Linked DNA regions of Homo sapiens: region 2 is linked to region 1. Evidence: promoter capture Hi-C in human tissues and cell types (Jung and others, 2019). All regions are on one chromosome and are shown on one strand. Each heading gives the region's core, a stretch centred on a gene start or on the middle of the fragment in contact. The rest is flanking DNA. Distances are from core to core; before and after follow the strand shown.

Region 1 (3,564 bases), core at 333-2,832:
AGTCTCTCCCACCCTGTCCTCCGCAACCGAGGAGACCCTGGCATCTGGGAGCGGGCTGGGCCGAGAAGGCAAGATCAATAAAGTTCAGCAAGTAGACAGCTGGGAGCTGGGTGCTACTGAGTTCTAGAAAGGGGGAGTAGAGACGGAAATATCCGAATCGGTGAAATGTAAATCGTGTCTACTGCATAAGGGAATCGTGCAGGGAGAGCCGCTCTCTATAAGGAGTTAACCAGCGCCTGCCCCGGACACCCCCGCGGGGCCTCCAGCGGGGCTCAAACTGGCGGCGGCTCAGCAGGGGGCGAGGGGTGCTGGGAAACGCCGGGGCTGCGAACTTACGGAAGAAAATGTACTCGGTGTAGCTGCTCCAGATCTTGTCGTCGCGGTACTGGTTGACGAAGGCGGCGGTGCCCGAGGAGTTACACGCCACCATGTGGAAGCCGGCCTCGGACAGGCGATCAAAGGCCTGCTCCAAGTAGGTGAACTTGAGGTAGAAGCGGGACGTGTACTTCTCCGGCTGCCGGTCGGGGTCGCGGCTCTCGTTGAGCGTGTCCCCGAAGACCTCCTTGGCCAGCGCGATGCGCCCGCACACCATGATGCGCGCCACACGCCGGAATTTGGCGTCGGCCTGGTTGTCGCGCACGGTGGTGTAGGAGCCCCGGTAGCCCAGCGTGAGGAAGCCCGAGCGCTTGTCCTGCGCGCCGCCGCCGCCGCCACCACCGTGCGCTCCCGGGCCCGAGGGCACGGCGGCCGCCGCCCCGCGCAGCAGCAGCGCGTCGCTGCTACCCTGCGAGACGTTGTCCTCCAGGTCGCTCTGGCAGCCCTCGTCGTTGAGAGAGTTCTGCTTGGTGACCTTGGGCGACAGCAGCTTGACCAAGTCGGTGAGCTGGAAATACTCGGCCTCGCGCAGCAGCCGCTCCTTCTCGGGGAAGTGCTCCGGCAGCGCGAGTTGCTTGTCCCGCAGATAATCCAGCACGTACCTGAAAAGGAAGCCGTCCCGGTCGATGAAGAAGCGCGCCCGGCTGTCCCTGGGCAGCTCGCCCCGGCGCCGGGCGCCGCCACGGGGACTAGAGGGCGAGAACATGCTGGCCAAAGTACTGTCCGGGACGCTGAGCAGCGTCGAGTGCTTGGTCACATAAACCTGGCCGCCTACGTTCAGCTCCACTACTTCAGGGAAGGGCGAGGGTGCGCAGGGCCCCGGGGCGGCGGCGGCCGACGCGCCGGGCGAGCTGGACGAGGAAACCATCTCGCTAATGGGCAGGATGGTGCTGCCGCCGCTGCCCGTGTCCTTCAGAGCCATAGTCCCCCCGCCGCCGGCCCAGTGACCCGAGAGAGCTGCACTTTCTCGTTCCCGGAGCCCGCGCCCCAGCCCTCCGCGTGCTCCTGGCGCTCTGCGCCCTCGGACTGGGCGGCGCGTTCCTCCGACCGGGGCGGCCCCGCTCAGGGTTCGGGGCAGCGGCGGCGTCGGCGGCGCCCGAGCTCCATCGGAGGAGAGACGCGCGAGAGAGGAGCTCCGCCGGTGCGGCGGCGGCAATGGAGAGGCAAGAAGGAGCTGCTGCTCCTTTGGGGCGAGGGCGGGGAAGTGTGAGAGAGACTTGCGAGAGGCTCTAGGGCTGCTGCTCGGCTCTCCGTGGGGAGGGCGGGAGGAGGGGCCGAAGCAAAGAAAACTCGCCGCCCCGGCAGCTTGCAAGCGTGCCGCGAGGCCGGAGCGCCGACGGTGGCGCTAACTACTCCTGGCAGCACGGGAGGAGGCACTGACGTCAAGCCCCGGACTGGGACCCGAGCCTCAGCTGTCATTTAAAGAGATAGGCTGCAGCCGCGGCTCCCGGGCTCCGACGCTAGGGGGCGGGGCCGAGAGCCGAGCCTGCAAGAGGTGCAGCTCCCCGACCCGCGGGGACAGGCAGGCAGGGAGCTCCTAAAGCAAAAGCGAGAAAAAGGGACAGCGCTCTCATTCCTTCATTTCACTCCCTCCTTGGGTCTGTGCCACCCCCTTTCCTCCCTCCTTTCCTTCTTCTCTTCCTTCCTTCCTTGCCTCCCTCCCCAGTAAAACTAGTTTTTTGCACTTTCATTAAGGTAAGGAGTGGAGGAGCGGAGAGGGGAGAATAAGGTTTTGATTATAGCAAAGATGCCAGGCTCCTAATCTGAAATCACCACAAATGTTGGCTTGCCAGCAGTGATTGCAAAAAGATTACGTGAGGGTGGGAAGGTACATCTCTTGTAGTGGCTTTATGATACAGTTTAAGTGAAGGGCTAAATGCGCGTACCTCTCTTGGAATCAAATTTCACGACTGCGTGCACTGAATATCCTTGAATAATTTTTAAAACTTTGTAATCTGCTTTCAGTTCACAATAATAAAGGAGTGTATGTAACAACTGTTTCCTTCCGACATTTTTACAATTTTTAGTTTTAAATTAGATGCTTAATAAATGTTTATAGAGGGAGAGACGGAGCCCGAGAGGAAATTTACTCGATTTGTTCATTCTTTCTAATCCTGATCAGTCTCATTAATCTCTCCATTTCCCTTTCAGCTCCATCAAACAAGAGAAGTGGCTGATATTTTTATTAGTCTTCTAACCCCAAGAGTAAGGTCACAAATAAAAATTATATGAATTTAAGCTCACCTTAATTTCCATGTGTACATAGTACAGGTACAGTCTGCAAAATGAGCATTACTTGTGATAAAGACTGAAAATAGGAAAGCAAATGAGAAATATTTCTTCTACCCTGGGGCATACATCTGTGTTCAGAAACATAAAGAATCATTGATTTATGAAGTACAAAAGAGAAAAGGGTGTATTGTGGCACAAAGTAGTTTGCTTCAATTATCATAACAATATTACAGATGAACTTTATCCATTAGCAGTCGATATACAGATTTTAATATTTTTTAAAAAGTTAAATGCCTACTAACAACTCCTTTTCTTCAAACCACCCAAAAAAGTATCAAATTTCAGATACGGTTGTAAATTAATACATTATTTTTGGAACATTACAAATTATGTTTAAATCATTGATCCTTATAAGCTGCATCCATAGACAATGTTATACCAATTTTGAAGTTGCATTATATGAAGCAGAGAGAACCTAATGGACCAATGAAAGAACAGAATATATTTGCCAAAGGACTGAGACTTAAAACGGGGGTTTCGGTATGCATCATCATGCAATCCTTTTACTCAAAACTATTGTGTCCTGCCAAATTTATAAACTGATTGATCAAATTAACTAATTTAATTGATTTAGCCTTCATTTAAAAGTTAAAACCAAGTATTAAAATAACAGAAAAAATACACTATTTTCTGCCTCATTAGAAGAATATTCGGGATTTAAAGTAATCGTTCCTGGATAAATGAATTAATAGATGCTTTATAATCTTCATAGATGAATATATAATAATGCCTCAAACCACTACTAGTGAAGCCCATTTATCATAAGGTAAGTGTCCCTAATGATAAGTAAGGTGCAGACTGTAGAACTGTAATGAAGTGGATATATAATAAATATGCATGTGAATATGAAGTCGCTAATATCAGGTTGAAATCCATCTTTACTTTTGAATTAAATAA
Region 2 (3,871 bases), core at 586-3,085, 53 kb before region 1:
TATAAGTATTAAATTCTATTATTAAAAATCCAATAAGAAATTCAAATGAGCATTTTAAGAAAACTTTTATGTATTTACAATGGAGTTTATGAATGGTAGTTATCAGAATATTTAAGTATCTTATAAATTATTAATATAAACATAAATGATAGTAATAAATGGTGAGGACTACGCTGCCATGAACTAGTTATCCTCACCTCCTCATTAGGCATTCTCTCAACTATTTATTCAATAAACATTTACAGAGCATCTCTTATTCTGTAGAAGCTTAGAAATCAAATAAAGAGCTTATTTTTGCCATTGCACTATATGATTAAAAAATTAAAATATAAAATAAAAGTAAATAGTATTTAGTATGCCTATACGGTGTATATTTACAGCTCTCTGATTACTTCAAATTTGATAATCTATGCATTTTTTGTTAAGAATATAGAGTTCAAGAGAATATAATATAAGCATTCATTCTGTGTGCTTAGTTTACCATTACTGGTTTACTTTCTCATTAAATCATTAGGAAGTGCTGAAAATAATACTTATTTCAAAATATAGAAAATTCATTCCAAAAACCTAATTACGAGTAGTAAACTCAAATGATTCAGAACAAAAAATATAATCTAGTGATTGCCAAAAACATGGCAAGCACTAGAAGCTTTCACATCCATCGCCTCAGTTAAGGGGAGTTGCTACTATGCCCTTTTATACAGGCAAAGAAATACAGTTTCTAAAAATCAAGTAACTAGCCCAACTTCACAATTCATAGGAGTGGGATTTGAGTACATATCTTCTTTGAGCTTCCAAATCCCATGAACCCAACATAAAACCATAGTATGTCTCAAAGAAAGCTTAAACTCAGAAAGAAAGAAAAAAAAATACCCTTTGGTCTTTTTACAAGTGCATATTTCAAAAGAAATTCAATGTCTGTGCAATATGTATTCCCATATTATCATATTTAATGTCATAAAAACTCACTGATGTGGTCATTATGAATCCTATTTTTATTTTGATTCCTTAAGATCAGATCCTGGCTTCAAATCTGTCTCTCTGACATCATTAAACCTCACTGAATTCAAATCGGATAATTTGACCCACACAATTTTGCTATGTCGTATGTGCTATAAGACAGGTGAAGCATTACATCTAGGGATTTTGCTTACAACTCTAAACCAGACCAAGATCTCAAAAACACAAACAAAAACAAAACTTTACTTGATTCAGTGAAGAAATAGACACATTAATTGAGCATGAATTTACCAAAAAATAATGAAAAAACTTATTGCAACATTTTCTCACATCACAAAAACATTCAGGTTCTGATGTAGGTCTTGTTCCAGTGACTCGACAATAGAGGCCTTAACTCTGTGATTATCAAGGCTTTTCCTTCATGATGGTCCTTCGTGTTCTCAAGATAGCTGCTCAGGTTTCAGGCATGATAGTTGTGTTTACAGCAAGGAGAAAGGGAAAGTGGTGATATTACCCTCTAGATTTCCCTTTGTAATGAACACAAAAGTTTTCCTGGGCACATTCCCAGAAGACTTCCTCCAATGGTTAGTAGCCAGAACTGTGTGATATCTCCAACTTTTGCAGCAAGAAAGGTAAGAAAAGGGCATGTTTAGATTTTGATAGTCTACAAAAAAACAGTAATGAGAGAAGGGAGAGGTAAAGGGATAGCGTGTGATCCTGAGACAGGAATAATACAGGGTGGTCACAGGAGAATAGAAAATTCCAGGAAGCAGTTTCACATGATTAGCAAAAGGAAACTGTTGACATAGCTGCATAAGCTAGGGGCCGAAAAGACCCTGAAATAGGGTGTAGGCCAATCTGGCTAAGAGTAACTGGACACAACACGGTACCTGATTTGACTTAGGTTTCACCTAGGACCTCATTATATGCTCATTAACATCCTAAATCACACACCCACCAGCACCATGAGGATTCTGGGAACACCCATATTCGGCATAAAAATGGATGGCACAGTTCCAAGAAATCTTCACCTTTTTCCAGAAGTCTTCATAAATATTTCACTCCTTGGTTAAAGAAACCCATAAAGGTAGCAGTCACACACCCCTTGTGTGTGACTCTCTCTTGATTATGCCCACAGTCCCCTTTCTTGAGTGTATACATTTACCTTTGCAAAAAATGTTCGTACTTTTACTATTTTCTGACTGGTCCTTGAATTTCTTCTCACGGCTGTGTCAAGAGCCCAGACACTGGCTGGGGGTGAGGTTCCACCCGCATTTGAGGACCTCCCCTAGCTCACCAGTATCAATCCCACTATATAGCAGCAGTCTCCAACCATTTTGGCACCAGGGACTGGTGTTGTGGAAGACAATTTTTTTTATGGACAGGGGAAGAGGTTAGGGATGGTTTGAGGATGATTCAAGTACATTAATTGTACACTTTATTTCTATTATTGTACACTTTATTTCTATTATTATTACACTGCGGTATATAATGAAATAATTATACAAGTCACCATAATCTAGAATCAGTGGGAGCCCTGAGCTTGTTTTCCTGCAGCTAGATGGTCCCATCTGGGGGTGATGAGAGACAGTGACAGATCATCAGTCACAAGATTCTCATAAGGAGCATGCAACCTAGATCCCTCGCAGGCACAGTTCACAATAGGGTTTGCACTCCTATGAGACTCTAATGCAGCCACTGATCTGACAGGAGGCAGAGCTCAGGCAGTAACGCAAGTGATAGGGGAGCAGCTGTAAATAACAGACAAAATGAAGCTTCACTGGCTTGCTCATCACTCACCTCCTGCTTTGCAGCCTGCTTTCTAAATGGCTATGGACAGGTACAGGTCTGTGGCCTGGGGTTTGGGGACCACTGCACTATAGAGTGCACTATAGAGTGTTTGCTCCAAGAACTACTCAAGGAAAGTTGTTTTTTTTTTTCTTTTAATTCTATCACATTAAACAGATACTTGCCATTTTGTTTCTTCTTAAAGTCAGGTCAGAAAACTTTAAAACAACTTCAACTTTTTCATGTTTTTTTCTCATTAACATAAAAATTCTGGACAAACACACAGGCACACAAAACACAAAACAATGAGCTGATTAACATCTAAGAAAAAAATCAGGTCAAATCTTGGTTACCCTAACCTATTAGGGAAATATCTGCACCAGAATTCATTAGTTGCATACTTAGTACCTTCACCACTTTACTAAGAGAACCACCTTCTTAGTGTGCAGGAACGGCCTCATCACACATTTCAGACCCATGCAGTGGAAATATAAATTGTTAGGAGGTTTAAGAGAGCTTCTAAAAAGAAAAGAATAAACTAATGAACTCAACTGATATGACCCCATTTTGTCCTTTGCCTTCCTCTCACAGCTTAAAATTCAAGCCCGGTAGTTGAACTCCAGCAGTCAACTTCCAAAAATAAGTATCACACTCCAAGAATGGCTAACAAAGCTAAAAGGAGCCTGGCTTCTAGGGACACTAGGACCTCAATAACATTCCTATGCTGGCTCCATCTGGACCCTTTCACATGAACAAAAAATAACCCCTTAATTTGTTTAAGCCACAGTTTCTCAGGTTCTTAAGTTAACTAGATTGCTAGATTATGAATTGTGATTGATTGTACCTAACATAAAGATACCATGCCTAAACCTAAATGAATCAGTTTCTATAAAAATGAAAAATACAGAAACATGGAGTTAATAGCCCCTTTTGTAGATCACAAGTGAAATTAGTGAAATCAGTGTTATTGATTTATAAGTTCCTTGACTATAAGTAGCAAATATTGAGCCCATTTCTCTAATACTCATATACGTATACATTATGTTTATATGTATATATATGTATGCACATTCATATATATGTAGATATAGGTAGATAGAAAGTGTTTGTGTATGTGTGCATG

The links. Contacts are between HindIII fragments. The study calls those that stand out against the background at their distance.
Region 2: a contact is called between a fragment that was not itself captured here and the fragment with the promoter of KCTD8 in region 1, in 1 of the 25 tissues and cell types used here (dorsolateral prefrontal cortex).

Annotation. Positions count from the first base shown.
Region 1 is chr4:44,447,227-44,450,790 of GRCh38, forward strand. It overlaps KCTD8 (potassium channel tetramerization domain containing 8), which reads right to left and starts at 1,583. Exons shown (of 2, transcript NM_198353.3): 1 at 337-1,583. The coding sequence starts at 1,297. The HindIII fragment of the contact is 6,980 bases long and covers 1-3,564 here.
Region 2 is chr4:44,393,566-44,397,436 of GRCh38, forward strand. All of the region lies in intron 1 of KCTD8 (potassium channel tetramerization domain containing 8), which reads right to left. Among named protein-coding and RNA genes, the nearest start is that of KCTD8, 53 kb to the right of the region's middle. The HindIII fragment of the contact is 3,687 bases long and covers 1-3,679 here.